Linked DNA regions of Homo sapiens: region 1 is linked to region 2. The links are contacts of gene promoters, found by promoter capture Hi-C in blood cells and fetal thymus (Javierre and others, 2016). All regions are on one chromosome and are shown on one strand. The core of a region is centred on a gene start or on the middle of the fragment in contact, and the rest is flanking DNA. Distances in the headings are between cores, read along the strand shown.

Evidence for each region. Contacts are between HindIII fragments. The CHiCAGO score rates a contact against its expected background, and 5 or more counts as called.
Region 1: a fragment that was not itself captured here is called in contact with the fragment with the promoter of LDLRAD4 in region 2 in 1 of 17 cell types (fetal thymus); the score reaches 7.5 in fetal thymus.

Annotation. Positions count from the first base shown.
Region 1 is chr18:12,943,629-12,946,717 of GRCh38, reverse strand. No RefSeq gene overlaps it. Among named protein-coding and RNA genes, the nearest start is that of SEH1L, 2.8 kb to the left of the region's middle. The HindIII fragment of the contact is 1,374 bases long and covers 704-2,077 here.
Region 2 is chr18:13,217,510-13,220,344 of GRCh38, reverse strand. LDLRAD4 (low density lipoprotein receptor class A domain containing 4) reads right to left here and starts at 1,585. Exons shown (of 7, transcript NM_001378100.1): 1 at 1,357-1,585. RefSeq lists a silencer at 2,425-2,794. The HindIII fragment of the contact is 2,786 bases long and covers 1,415-2,835 here.

The DNA of each region.
Region 1 (3,089 bases), core at 141-2,640, 270 kb after region 2:
CCTCTTATGATAACTGATAACAACTATAACTTTTTTGAAGGTCAAAGACACTCATTTCCAAAGAAAGTGCTCACTATAAAAGTCCAATCAAAATATATTGATTATTATAAAAATATCAAAACAGTTTAAAAATTGTTTTAATTAAATTTAAATACAGACAGTAAACAGATCATTGGTTGCCAGAGATTATCAGAGTGGGAGTGAAGTGTTGAATTAGGTGAAACAGTGGATTTTTTAAAATAGACTTTAGTTTTTAGAACACTTTCAGGTTCACAGCAAAATTGAGCAGAAAATAGAGTTCCCGTATGTACCCCTACTGTCACACATGCACAGCATCCTCCACTGTCAACATCCCATACCAAAGTGGTACCTTTGTTATGATCAGTGAACCTACATTGACACATCATTATCACCCAAAATTCAGAGTTTGCATTAGGGTTCACTCTTGGTGTTTTATTCTGTGGGTTTTGGCAAATATATAATGACATGGATCCACCATTATAGTATCACGCGGAATAGTTTGACTGCCCTGAAAATCCTTAGTGCTCCTGTTCATCCCTTTCTTCCGACAACACCTGGCAACCGCTGATCTTTCCACTGACTGCATGGTTTTGACTTTTCCAGAATGGCATATAATGGGAATCTTGGAGTGGCTAGCCTTTTCAGATTGGCTTCTTTCCTTATAGTAATATGCATTTAAGCTTTCTCCATGTCTTGTCTTGAGAGTTCATTTCTTTTTAGTGCTGAATAATATTCCATTGTCAGGCTGTAACAGTGTTTATTCATTCCCCAACTAAAGGGCATTCTGGTTGTTTCTGTGTTTGGGCAATTATCAATAAAGCTCCTACAAACATCTGTGTACAGGTTTTTGTGTGGACATGTTCGCAACTCCTTTGGGTAGATACCAAGAAGCATGATTGCTGGATCATATTGTAAGAGTAAGTTTAGTTTTGTTTTTTGGGGTTTTGTTTTGTTTTTTGAGACAGGGTCTCACTCTGTCATGGCAGACAATCGTGGCTCACTGCAGCTTTAAATTCCCTGGGTTCAGATGATCCTCCCACCTCAGCCTCCCGAGCAGCTGGGACTACAGGCACAGTGCCACCACACCCAGCTAATTTTTCTGTTTTTTGCAGAGATGGGGTTTCACCATGTTGAGCAGGCTGGTCTCAAACTCTTGGGCTCAAGCGATCCTCTTGCCTTGGCCTCCCAAAGTGCTTGGATTACAGGCATGAGCCACTGTGCCTGGCCTGGTTTTATAAGAAACTTACAAACTGTCTTCCAAAGTGGTCGTGTCAGCCAGGCCTGGTGGCTAAATTACCCTGTAATCCAGCACTTTGGGAGGCCGAGACGGGCAGATTATCTGAGCTCAGGAGTTCAAGACCAGCCTGGGCAACGTGGCGAGACCCGCTTCTCTACTAAAAATACAAAATAAAAATACAAAAAAATGCCCCAGGAGTGGTGGTGGAACCGAGATTGTGCCACAGGACTCCATCCTGGGCAACGCAGGGAGACACTATCTCAAAAAAAAAAAAAAAAGAGAGAGAGAATTTAACACAGGAAACTGGTTACATATATATCCAAGGGGTTAATTAAGAGCAAAAAGGGAACATGTGAGATTACCCAGAGACTAGTAACTACGGGAAACTCTGGGCTGGGAGCGTGAAAGGGAAAATAGTTTTACCCAGTGCTACCATCATTGACTCTGAGGCTGCTGACATTGGCACCTTTACCACCAGCAGGCAGAAAGCCAGGAGCCAATACTCCAGCTTACACTGCAGGCGTCCAACAGAGTAACAGCCATGGGAGCCCACAAGCTCTGAACAGCTGAGGTTCCTGGAGCCTCTGCTAGTACTGCTGGAGCTAGGGCTGAGTGCTGCTGCTACTGCTGCTGTTCACATCACCCCCGAGCAGGAAGCCAGGCTCACCCATTGCCACCACCACCACTACTCAGCTATGTGAGCTGCCTCCACAAATTGGAGAAAAGGTCTTCTTCCTCCTGCATCTGAATCCCCTACTGTCTCTCAATTCAGAACCTAACTAGAAATAGAGAGCTAATAAGAGTCTGGAAAAACAAGCTTGGAGGTTTCCAGTTCATATTCTGGAAAGAATACGACCTACAGTGAAGGCTGGGCGTGGCAGCTCACACCTGTAATCCCAACATTTTGGGAGGCTGAGGCGGGCAGATCACTTGAGGTCAGGAGTTCAAGACCAGCCTGGCCAACATGGTGAAACCCCGTTTCTACTAAAAATACAAAAATTAGCTGGGCGTGTTGGTGAGCGCCTGTAATCTCAGCTACTCAGGAGGCTGAGGCAGGAGAATCGCTCTAACCCTGGAGGCAGAGGTTGCAGTAAGCTGAGATTGCACCGCTGCACTCCAGCCTGGGCAACAGAGCGAGACTCCATCTCAAAAATATAAATAAATAAATAACCTACAATGAGTTAAGAAGCTTTCACATTTTTTTTCCTGCTCTGCGCCAGTTTAAATAGCATAGGAACTGAAAGATTCCTATGAAGATTTTGTAGAAGATTCCGTGAAGATTTTGTAGATGACGTTCACAAAATTTTATCAGCCTCATGCCTTGGGTGATGATAGGTATAGTTAATTTTAACTACCTTTTAAAATTATTTTATTCATGGCCTCTTCAGATTTTTTACCTTTTGTCAAGACAATTTTGATCATTTATATCTTCCTTTAAAAAATCAGCCATTTTGTGCTGGGCATGGTGGCTCATGCCTGTAATCTCAGCACTTTGTGAGGCCGAAGTAGAAGCATTGCTTGAGCTCAGGAGTTCAAGACCAGCCTGGGCAACATAGTGAGCCCTCGTCTCTACAGAAAACAAATTAGCCAGGTGTGGTGGTGCACGCCTGTATTTCAGCTACTCAAGAGGCTGAGGCAGGAAGAGGATCACTTGAGCCCAGGAGGCAGAGGTTGCAGTGAGCTGAAATCGTGCCACTGCACTCCAGCCTGGGCGACAGAGTGAGACACTGTCTCAAATAAATAAATAATCAGCCATTTCACTGAAATATTTAAACTTATTAATATAGAGTTATATATGTTAATGTCTTGCAATTTCTAAAGTCTCCATATC
Region 2 (2,835 bases), core at 336-2,835:
AGCCCTTCCAAGGGTAACAGCAGAATGTTAAGAAATTAGAGAGGTCATTTAAAACAAGGGAGGAAGGTAGCTACAATTCCATTACAGCAAATCCCTTACTGGCATTTACATTCCCAGCCCTAATTCCTAACACTGTGTTCAATGTCAATAGCAAAATGAAGCTCTTAAAAAGAATTAAGCTTTCAAAGATCATAAGGAAGTTAGCCCCCTGTTTTAAAAAGCACTGCTTAGAAAGGTCCATCAAATAACATTTCAAGGGTTGATGGGAAACCAAATATAATTCAATAAATATACATGGGTAATACTCAGACATCCTCATTTGTCTATGTAATGACTCAGATTTGACACTCTGATCCTTGACTGAACACAAAGACTATATTCCAGAAGAATTGTGCAGAGTACAAAGGGAGAGTTACAGATGACAACACACTCGAGTTAAAGACTAGAAAAGACAATACCATATACAGAATGCAGACATGACTTGATGCAATGGCAGTCTCCCTGTGCAGACTTTGCAGAACCTTCTCTGTCATTCAATACTCAGTCCTGAAGCTCCAGGGAAGATACAGAGAGGAGGATGCCATTCTTGGCTAGCCAAACCGGCAGAAAGGGCCGTTTTTAAAAGGAAGCTTCCCAGCACTAGCCCTTCGAGAAGGCACCAACCTCCTTACCAGCCATAGGACCCTATTTTTGAGAGTCAATGCTGCTCACCATCTCTATCCACCTCTACTGCAAATAACTTACTAATACTAGCGCTCAGAACCCACATTCTGTGCAGCTACTCTTACCTCACATCCTACAATGCCTAACACATAGTAGGCCCTCAATAAATATGTATTGCAATGGTAATTAACATTTAGAAAGCAGCGCTGGTCCGGGGATGAGAAGATGCCAAAATAATTAGAAAAGAGAAAAAGAGAAGGGAATAGACCAAGACACAGAGGAAAAGAAAAGAAGCAAATCAAAATTATCTAATTCTAGCTAATTAAAAAATTTTGGGGGAAAAACAAAAATCATGCTAGTTCATGCGGCTATGGGCACACAGCAACCATTCCTGTGCCTGGGCAGAGCTAAGGAGTCCTGCTTGCTTTAAAGAGCTTCTAGCTGCCCTGACTGGCGACGAGGTGTCCCTCCAGGTAGGTGACCCAAGAACGCTGTACTCTCGGATGCGCCTTCCCCCAGTGCCGCCCACCCACCATGCGTCCCTGTCGTCCTGAAAACCTCTGCCTCATCGGGAAACCTTCTCCTTTTCCAATTAAAAAAAAAAAAAAAAAAGTTTAAACAAGCAAATGCCCTCTCCGCCACGATAGCGATTTAACCTAAACCGAACCCACTGTCTTCCACCGGTGTACTCACAGGGCGCGCCCCCAGGCCCACCCGGGGCGGCGCACCGGGAAGGGGTCCCGAGGAAGCTTCCTAAAGGCTGTGCAGGGCAGACCCCTTCACAAAGGCAAGTGCCGGGCCGGGCTGGGTGCTTGTCGCTTCCTGTTTATTCCAAGGTGAGGGGCAGAGAGAAATTCAACACACGCCTGCTTCCTCCGGGGCTCGGAGACCCAGCCTAAGTGCAACAGCAGCAGCCCCAGACAATCGACTTCCCAGCCAATGCCGGGAGCTCCGGGCGGTCCCGCGACCGACGTCAACGCGCGCGGGGGGACCCGGGGGGACGCCGGGTGAAGCGGGCCCGAGGGGCCGGGGCCGGGGAGCGCGCGGTGCAGGATGCGGGACTGAGGGGCTGCGGGGCTTGGCCCGCCCCCTCCTTCCCGCAAACTCCCCGGTCAGGTCCTGCAGGATCTTCCCGCTTCCCGCTGACCTCCAGTCCCTGCCCGCCACGGCTCGCCGAGGCCTAGGGGCGCGGAGACAGTTGGGGCTGCCATCCGCGCGCCCATCCTGGCCTCCGGGCGGTGCAGAATTCAGTCTTGCAACCGCGGGACACCCTGCGCCCCAGGGCACCAGGAAACAGAAAACGGGGTGGGGGTCGGCGAAGTCCCTCCACCGGCGTAACCCCGCCCGCGGGCCAGCCCCGGATCCCCGCCGTGCCCACCGGCAAGCCCACCCGGACCAAGCCTCACAGACCTCGCGCGCTCGGCGCCCAGCTTCTCCCTCCGGCCCCAGCCGACGGCGCAGGCTCGCGGACGTCCAGTTCCCAAAGCGTCCGGTTCCCGAGTCCCCCGCCACCCCTCCCTCCGGAGCGCAGCGGTGAACTTGGGCCAGAAGCCCCGACCACTGCGGCCACCTCGGGTCCGCACTCACCTGGGCCGCCCCCCCGGAGCGGAGGCGGGGACTGCCCGCAGTGCGGCTCCGCGGCCACCGGCCCTGCTGGCCAGGGGGAGGGGCGCTGTGCGGGGCGCGGCAGGGGGCGCGCGGCGGGCCGGCGGGGAGCGCGGCGCGCCGGGGTTCTTTAAGAGCTGAGGACCTCACCCCCGGGCCTCCCCCGCGCTCCCCGCCCTGCTTCCACTTTCCCAGGCACCCGCAGCCTGTCTGGCTGCAGCGGCGGCAGCGGCTCAGTGGCTTGCAGGGGATCCCCGGCCGGCCGCGGCGGCGCGCGGAGCGGGCAGGGCCAACGCACTCGCCTGCTAATCCCGCCGGGCCCGGTCCGCAGCCTCAGCGCGGGGAGAGAGGGGACGCGGCGCTGCGGCCGCCGGGGAGGTGTCCCGCCTCCAGTCGCCGGAGGGGGGAGTGTCCCGCCTCCCGCCGCCGTCGCCGCCGTCTGTCTCCAGCCGTGACTGCGCGCCGCGGCTGTGTCTGTCTCCAACTCCTCCAGTCTCTCCTCCTCCTTCCCACTCCGCGGTGGGGACCCGGCGCGCGGCCAGGCCGCGGGTACCGGGGCCGCCGTGG